2 separate regions of the Homo sapiens genome follow, and region 1 is linked to region 2. Evidence: promoter capture Hi-C in 16 types of primary human blood cells and fetal thymus (Javierre and others, 2016). All regions are on one chromosome and are shown on one strand. The core of a region is centred on a gene start or on the middle of the fragment in contact, and the rest is flanking DNA. Distances in the headings are between cores, read along the strand shown.

What was found. The method cuts DNA at HindIII sites, captures the fragments that hold promoters and counts their contacts. A CHiCAGO score of 5 or more calls a contact.
Region 1: a contact is called between a fragment that was not itself captured here and the fragment with the promoter of ALDH18A1 in region 2, in 1 of 17 cell types (activated CD4 T cells). The highest score is 5.9, in activated CD4 T cells.

Annotation. Positions count from the first base shown.
Region 1 is chr10:95,902,642-95,907,316 of GRCh38, reverse strand. The region is part of intron 2 of ENTPD1-AS1 (ENTPD1 antisense RNA 1); the gene reads left to right. Among named protein-coding and RNA genes, the nearest start is that of CC2D2B, 3.0 kb to the left of the region's middle. The HindIII fragment of the contact is 2,948 bases long and covers 297-3,244 here.
Region 2 is chr10:95,654,423-95,658,942 of GRCh38, reverse strand. ALDH18A1 (aldehyde dehydrogenase 18 family member A1) reads left to right here and starts at 2,232. Exons shown (of 18, transcript NM_002860.4): 1 at 2,232-2,346. RefSeq lists a silencer at 2,386-2,495. The HindIII fragment of the contact is 11,183 bases long and covers 1-4,520 here.

The DNA.
Region 1 (4,675 bases), core at 521-3,020, 250 kb before region 2:
CCCATGTGTCGTCATTCATCGCTTAATAAACAGAGTACGGCTCTCATTGTTTTTCTTTTTCCCATTGCCTCGCTCCGAGTTAAAATAACGAGATAAACTAAACGTGATGCGGTTGGGAACTTGTTCAGGGAAACCGGCTGGGGCGAACTTCGGAAACTTGCTAGTGTAGAGAGCCGCACGGTGGTGGTTTGTATGCTTTCACTCATTCAGGCTTTCCACAGTGTTTAACTGCGTTCTGTGTCAGGCATTATGCCCCAACAGTCGTCTTGTGTAAGACTTCCATGCATTTTTAAGCTTTGCTTTTATTTTCTAAATGTACATGTTAATAGAGAATAAACATTATTGACCTCTTTATTCTGATATTAATTGCCTAAGTTTCGTAGGATTGTCTTTATTTTTTAATAGTATGGTGACCAAAAGTAATACTAGTGTTTAACCTTAGTAAGCAAAATAGAGTCCCAGTGTCTCTGACAGCTTGGCACAGTTTCATTTGAGACCGTAAATCCCACCCTGTCTATAGTCTCTGTCATACTTGGTAACAACCCAGATAATTTATCCCTTCTCGCAGCCTCATTCCCACACCTTCTCCATCTGCTGATCGTCTCACTATCTGCCTTCTTCTGGAAACTGTAAACTCTTTTTCTAGACTCCTCATATGTAAACCCCTCTATATCTTTTTTTAAATTTATATATATATATATTTTATCATACTTTAAGTTCCAGGGTACATGCGCACAACGTGCAGGTTTGTTACATATGTATACATGTGCCATGTTGGTGTGCTGCACCCATTAACTCGTCATTTACATTAGGTATATCTCCTAATGCTATCCCTCCCCCTCCCCCCATTCCACAACAGGCCCTGGTGTGTGATGTTCCCCTTCCTGTGTCCAGGTGTTCTCATTGTTCAATTCTCATATGAAATACTATGCAGCCATAAAAAATGATGAGTTCATGTCATTTGTAGGGACATGGATGAAGCTGGAAACCATCATTCTCAGCAAAGTATCGCAAGGACAAAAAACCAAACACCACATGTTCTCACCCCTCTATGTCTTTATATCTTCTTGTTCACAAAACATTCCTCCTTGTGATATTGGGTACCTGGCTGTCTCCTGAAGACACTGCTTTCCCAGCAATTCACCACAGCGAAAGCCATGCCTGCTGGAGACACTGCTTTCCCAGCAATTCACCACAGCGAAAGCCGTGCCTGCCCGCGCCCCCCGCCCCCCAGAGGTGGTATCTGTATTCGCCATCTCCTCATGGCCATTGCTAGGCCATTCCATCCCACCCCAGGACCCAGAGCTGGTATCTGTATTCGCCATCTCCTCATGGCCATTGCTACGCCATTCCATTCCACCCTTGTAAAACTTACCAGAAACCCTTCTCTAATGAGCCCTTTTCCCTCTCCTCACTGTTATTTACCAGCTGCCTGGTCACTCATGTTCATTAAGGAATTTAGTACCCAACTCAAGTCTTTTTTTTTTTTTTTTTTTTGAGACGGAGTCTCTGTCAGCCCAGTTTGGAGTGCAGTGGTGTGATCTCAACTTACTGCAACCTCTGCCTCCCGGGTTCAGGCGATTCTCCTGCCTCAGCCTCCCGAGTAGCTGGGACTACAGGCGTGCACCACCACGCCCAGCTAATTGTATTTTTAGGAGAGACCGGATTTCACCATGTTGGCCAGGCTGGTCTTGAATTCCTGACCGCAGGTGATCCACCCGCCTCGGCATCCCAAAGTGCTGGGATTACAGGCATGAGCCACTGTGCCTGGCCAGTCTTTCTTTCATACTCAATTGCTACAAGGTTCTGGGGGGACTAAAGCAGTCATGTGTATCACAGGTCCAGCACCCCATATTCCCTTAACTTACTGCCATGACTGACTGACTGCAGGACCATAATATCTAAGACTGTTCCATATTAACAATCACGAACTCTAGTATTCTCTTCTCATCTTCCTGTTTCTTTCATCTCTTCCTCTGCCTTATTCTTCTATACTTAATCCCTGATCTCATGAAGACGCTGTCCCTTGATGACTATTTTGTCATCATCAGCCTCTACCTACATTGACTTTCTTCCTTGTCTAGCCCACACTCCTTGTTTTATTATTTACCCACATCAGTATCCACAATTTCTTTGCCTTTTGTGTTTCTTCCACTTTTGTCCAGCATACCTATTCTAGTTTAGTCTAGCCATTTGCTTTCTCTCCTCATATAGAAAGGTAATTGTATTAGTGAAAATCATGTAACCAGATTATTGCCATGATGATATGGCATGGTCCATAATGTAGCTCAGCCATTCTTTTCCTTTCTCACCCACAGCTACTATTCTAACTTTTATCGTTCCTTAAACCTACTCTACTTTTGACCTTGTACTTTCAGCAGCTGGCTTGGCTTTTTCAGAGGAAACAGAGACTCTCAGACATGAATACTGTGACACTGACCACCAGGCCAACTTAACATCAGCAGATATCCTGTCTCAGATGAAGAGGTATGTTTGATTTATTTCTTTTTTTTTTTTCTATCTACAGATGATCCAATATATGTCCTAGATCCCATTCATTCTGTCTCCTCTGGGGCCTTATTTCATCATTTAACCCTCCCTTTTTATCTTCAGTATACCCTTTCCCCACCTCCCTCCCCTGGCTTTATCTGCCCTATCCAACAAAACAAAAACAAAAAGAAAAACCATCAACTGGGATTATTCTCAGATTTCTTCTCTCTCTCCTTTTTTACAGCCACATTTAGAGAAAAAGGTAATCTTTTTTTCCCTTCCCTTACTTGTTAACTCTTCTACCCACAGAGTTCTGGCTTCCGCCACCTAATCATGCCACCAAGGACTTTGTGATTGCCAAACCCAAAATATCTTCTTAGGCTTCTTTTCTGCACTTGGCTCTGTAGACCATTTCCCAGTCTTGAACTTTCCTTGTTTCATTGTTTTCGCAAACATCAGTTTCTACCATTCTTCTCCCACCTCTTAGGTTATTTTAAATTTGCAGTACCAGTTCCTCTGGGATCTTGCTCTAGTGTGGGGTATCCAATTTTTTGGCATCCCTGGGCCATATTGGAAGAAGAAGAAATGTCTTGGGCCATACATAAAATACACTAACGATAGCTGATGAGCTCAAAAAATAAAAAATTGCAAAGAACTCTCAAAATGTTTTAAGAAAGTTTACAAATTTGTCTTGGGCCACATTCAAAGCAGTCCTGGGCCACATGGAGCCTGTGGGCTGCAGGTTGGACAAGCTTGCTCTAATACCTTTTCTATGCTTTTGTAGTCATTTTCTTCTCCTTGGCATCTAGACATGTTGAAGTTTGTCATAAAAATAAACAAACCTTTCCCTCTGTCCCCCTTCCCGCAGTTGTTGCTCTTTAAGGTTTTGTCCTTGATCTTTTTCTCTTTTCAGTTTCTGTTGTTCCCTATGAGTAATCTCTTAGCTTCAACCACCAGTTTAGGGAAATGACCTCCAAATCTCTCTTTAGCCTGGACTTCTTACCTGAGCTCCTGACGGTGACACCCTTACCCCAGTACCCAAAGTACCCGAAATGTATAGAGTTCAAAACCAACCTTCCCTCCCCAGACTTATTCCCTGTGTTTCCTGTTTCGTGAATGAGGCCAGTATCTGCTCAGTCACCCCAGTGAAAACTAAGAACAATCCTGAAATTCCATTTTTTAAAGTCATTCCACACACATTCAGCAGGTTAATTCTGCTGCCTGAATAGCTGTTCTTTGGAGCCTGTCTTTGTCCTCATGGCTGTGCTTTAGCAGCCAGCATCTCTTGACATTCACTGACTAACTAACTTGTCTCCCAGTTATCTCCTTCTTGTTTCTTTCATTATATTATCACCAGAACTGTGTTCCTAAAGTGCAGACCTGATCCCCTGCTTTCAGTTCCTCCATATAGTAAAATCTGAGCTCTGCCTGACATATATGAACTAGCTCCTTTCTTCCAAAACTTTGTTTTTCTGCGATTCTCCAGCATGCACACTGTGCTAAAACCATGCTAAACCATTAACTGTATCCTGGTCACAGCATGTAGTTTTCTTTGCACGAGCCATTCCTTGCTGGAATCCTGTCAACTTTTCCCCATAAAGTTTCTGCTCAAGCATTACTTTCTTTGTGATGCCACCACTAATTCCTTCTGTATGGCACTGTATAGTAATTACTCATCTGTCTCTCTCTCCACCAGACTAAAAACTGAGGGCTGACACTGAATTTCTTCATTTGTTTGTTGAATAAATGAGTAGCAATTAGCACAGTATCATCTGTGAACAGTGAACCATGATTCCTGTGTACTTTGGGTGATGATCAAATATTAACTTTGGGAAGGACCTCAAAAACAATGTAGGTCAGCTCTTCTTTTATCAGACGCAGAAACTGAGGACCAGCAAAGTTAAGGACCTTAAGCACCTGTTCCTCAGGCACATGATGCACATTGATGCCATCATGCCTTTACTTCTGTTCTCTGCCTAGAATGGACTGTTCCACCTGGCAAAACACTACTCTACTTATCCATGCACCTTGCTTTTCAGTGTTGTTCTTGGACTACCAGCATCAAAGTTATTAGGAGTGTTTATTTAAAATGCAGATTCCTGAACTCCATCACAGAGTTTTTGAACCAATCTCTGGAAGGGAATCCAGGAAGTCCATTTTAAGTGGAGTTTCACTGTATTAACCT
Region 2 (4,520 bases), core at 983-3,482:
GCCTTTGCAATAGGCTAACCAACATTCCAGCTCTAGGCGTCTTTACTGATTTCTGGCACAAAAATCGGATCATACCATTCCAGCACTTAAAAAGTCATGTTTCTCTGTTTTTAAGGATTATAAAATTCAAAATCTTTAGCATACCACAAAAAACCCTTTGTAAGTTTAGGATACCAGCCAGACCCCTCTCCTGTCATGTCCTACTGCAAGTAGCCTCTTTTCACGGGGTGTCTCACACCTCTGCATATATCATTCCCTTATTCCCTCTTCCTCATATGATCCTGTACTCCTCTCCTCTTTTAGGTAAACTCCTTACTTCTAGTGCTTCAAAGCACAATTTGAATATCAACTCTTTTTAAAGCCATTGTATTAGTCTGTTTTCACACTGTTACAAAGACATACCCAAGACTGGGTAATTTATAAAGAAAAGAGATTTAGATGATTCACAGTTTCACATGGCTGGGGAGGTTTCAGGAAACTTACAATCATGGTGGAAGGGGAAGAGGCAAGTCTTACATGGTGGCAGGCAGGAGAAAGCAAACCAGTGAAGGGGGAAGAGTCCCTTATAAAACCACCAGATCTCATAAGAACTCACTATCACAAGAACAGCATGGGGGAAACAGTCCCATGATCCAATCACCTCCCATCAGGTCCCACCCTCCATAGGTGGGGATTATGGGAATTACAATTCAAGGTGAGATTTGGGTGGGGACACAAAGTCAAACCATTTCAGCCATCCCTGAATGTCTGGCCATCCCATTCTTTAGTATTCATCACATGGTATTGTAATTATTTGCTCATATATCTCTCTCTTCCATAAGGCTGTGAACTCAGCTATGTCTTCTTCCACACCCAGGGAATGCTTGGCTGTCTCAGTCCATTTTGTGCTGCTAAAACACAATAACACAGACTGGATAATTTTTAAATAATAGAAATTTATTTCTCACAGTTCTAGAGGCTAGGAAGTCCAAGATCAAGGTGCCAGCATCTGGTGAGGGCTTTCTTGCTGTATCCTCACGTGGTGGAAGGGCAGAAGAGCAGAAGAGAACACCCACCTCCACAAACCTTTTGATAGCAGCATTAATCTATTCATGAGGGTCACTCTATTCATAAAGGTGGAGCACTCTTGACCCAAATGCCTCCCATTAGGCCCCACCTCCCAATATTCTTGCATTGGGAATTAAGTTTCCAACATATGAATTTTGGGGGACATATTCAGACCATAGCAGTAGCCAGTGTTTAATAAACAAGAAAATGAATAAATAGGCTTAGTAGTGTTATCAGGGACGACAGAAGGGCATGATGCCTTTCTGTGCCCAACCTCCTATCAAGTGCTGCCCTCCCACCACCCAGCACTATGTGCCTATGCAGGAATGTGTCCTTTGAGCAAAATACAGCAAGGAAAGAGGGAGAAAAATCTGTGTTTTCACTTTTTTTCTTTTTCTTTTTAAGAGGTGGGGTCTTGCTGTGTTGTCCAGGCTGGATTTGAACTCCTGGGCTCAGGTGGTTCTCCTGCCTCCACCTACGAGTAGCTGGGACTACAGGCACACACCACAGTGCCAGGTTTTTGTGGTCTCTCTTTAAAGGTGAGTCTGCATTCACCTTTGGAATAGTTCTAGTTGTCATAGATTGAATATCCTATTTTAAAATGCAATATTCTTACAACTGCCTTTGATGAAAGGGAGTTGAGATGGGACCATTGGGGAAACCTCCAGATGACTAGGGGGCAAGTAATTTGATTGCAGTGCCAAAATGCTTCCATTTAAGGAGCCAAAGTTTGCAAATGTGTGTAAACTGATCCAATCTATTCCCAGGATGTGCCTGAAGTAACAAACATATGTAAGTTGATCCAACCTATTTCCGAGGTGTGCCCGGGATATAAATGGTTAACATTGACAAACACACCTTATGAAATCTACCAGCAGCTGAGGGTGCCAGGCACCTCTTCTACCTCCCTGGAAGGCCCAGTGGGGCGGCGTTTCGAAGGTGTCTTCGCCCCTGTCTCCGGCCCCTGTCCCCTCCCGGGACGTGGGCGTTCCCCCTGAACTCGAGTCCCGCCTCTTCCAGGCTGCCGGGGCCTGGTGGGCTGGCCCGCCACGTGGAGCGCTGGCTTGATTCTCGAAAGGGGCCTACGCCATTGCCGCGCCGCAGCTCCAGGACAGGCCCTCGCCCCACGTCAACAGCGTAGGGCCGGCTGCCCAGGTTTACTCTTACGCCACTGACGTAACGTCATCGTGCGGGACGTGGACGGAAGAAAAAAGAGAGTGAGCGAGCGCCGGAATCAGCCCGGCGTGGAGTGCGGACCCGCGGTAGTGCCAGGGGGCGAAGGCGGCGGTGGTGAGGAAGGTACGCGGCGAGCGGCGGGGATGGCTAGGCGCCCGCGTCTCTGCGGAAGCTGTTGCGCGCCCAGGCTCAAGCGCGAGGGGCGTGAGCGCCGGGCCGCTGGAGCGGGGACGCTGCCGGAGCAGGTGCCGGGGCCCGGGGATCTGGCCCATGGGTAGGTGTGGGCCTCGGCCGAGGGATGGCGGCTGCATCGGGCCGCCCAGGGCGCGCTGCAAGACCGTGGCGCGCTCCCATATGCCGGTGCGCGGCCGCCCCGGGATCTACGGATGGCTACGGGCCCTGACCTCCCCGGCCTCCCCTGGGTACACCATGTAAGGAACTGGGCCAAGTGGAGACTTCAGGCATCCGCGGGCCCCTTCTTTCCAAGAGTATGGAGCCTGCACTGGTGGGTGGCGTGGGTGGCGGTGGTGGCAGCGCCGGGATGCCGCGGGTTTTAGCTGGCCGCACGCTGACTCTCAGGGGCCTGGGTCCCTAGTTCCCCGCGGCCCTCCAGGCGTTCATCATCCCCTCCTCAAAGCCAGACTCCCTTTGCAGTATGGCATTCTGTGTATGCTGGGGTCTTCCTGTTACAGCAGGACGCACCCACATACCCCACCTCGTCCTTCCCCCATCATTATCCCCTGCCCTCTGAGGTGGTGAGGCCCATCGGATCTTTGTATTTAAGTGGTGAGCCATATACCGAGCATGTGTTTGTGGGTGAACTGTGCTGGGACTGAGGTTCACTTCTCTGTTCAAATCAGTTAGATAAGGGCATTCTGTTTAGTCTGTAAAGAGATATTGAGAAATGTCTTGAGTCAAAACGTGAAAACTTTCTTCAACTGATGATATGGAGTCTAAACACACACACAGAGTCGAGACACAGTCACACAAATCTAGACACGAGTCTAGATACACACACACACACACACACACACACACTCTCTTTGCTCCTTGGGATCAACTGTGTGCTTCTCGAGGGCGTAATACACTCTGCCTGGTCAGTCAGAGATGGTGGTACAGGGGAGAGGTCAGGAGGCTTGGTTTCTACGTCAGTCTTCAATCTCTTATTTCAGTGACCGTAGGTGTTCAGAGCTTTCAATGACTCTTGGTTAATAGAGAGGTAAACAGTCAGTCAATATATGTGTGTGATTGTATCTAATAGTGAATATTCGTTGAATTCTTTGTTCCCGTGATGGGTCTTGAAGGAAATTAAGGAAAAAATAATTGTAAGGCATCATTAGTGCCTAAAAGACAAAAGGAGGAAAACTGACATTTACTGACCATTTGTTGTACCCAAGCACTTTCCACGCATTCTCTCTTTTAATTCTCACTATAATTTCATGAGGTCCATAGTGTTAGTATCCCTGATTTATAAGTGAGGAAACAGAGGCTTAGAAAAATTGGGTAACTCTTACATATGTAACTAACCTGCACATTGTGCACATGTACCCTAAAACTTAAAGTATAATAATAATAATAATAATAATAATAAAGAAAAATTGGGTAACTCTCCACAAGACACACAGCAAGTGCAGAGCTCGAACCCAAATCTGACCAACTTCAAAGGCCTTGTTCCTCATCGTTTTTGCCATATTGTCAATGGAAAGTTTGTAATCCAGATGGGAAAAGCAGTAGTCATGAGCTATTTAAAAGCTAACCTATAGAATTATATCCAGCTGTGAAGACTAGCCTTGCTGGGGAAGGTTTCTTAGGGAGGTGGAACTGGAATTTGATTGTTTTACCCTTTGGCTCTTCTGTAGTTATTTTGGAGAATTCACATGTAAATAATTGTTTAGCAGCCATTATTGAAGGAATTTATATAAGCAGCAAACTTAGATCACGTGCTAAAATCATACTTCAGTGTTATGAAAAAATTGAAATAACAAAGATCAATTAATACTTTCTGTTGCCTACTAGATGCCATATGTTTTAGAACAGCTGCATCCTGCCAGTCTCTTCTCTGTCCCATTTCAGTGCCTTTGTGCAGTATAAATTGTAAAGCAATGACACCATTCCTAATTTTTCTTCACTATGGGGCTAAATGCTAGTCTTCTGAGGCACATTTAAGAGGGCTGGGATATATCCACCAATCCATGGAACAAAAGTTAAAAGGAGGCCCACAAACAAAGAAAGTGAAGTATTTTTCTTACCTTGTGAAAATAGCAGTGTCTCTGTAGCATAAAAAGAGCTACAATATT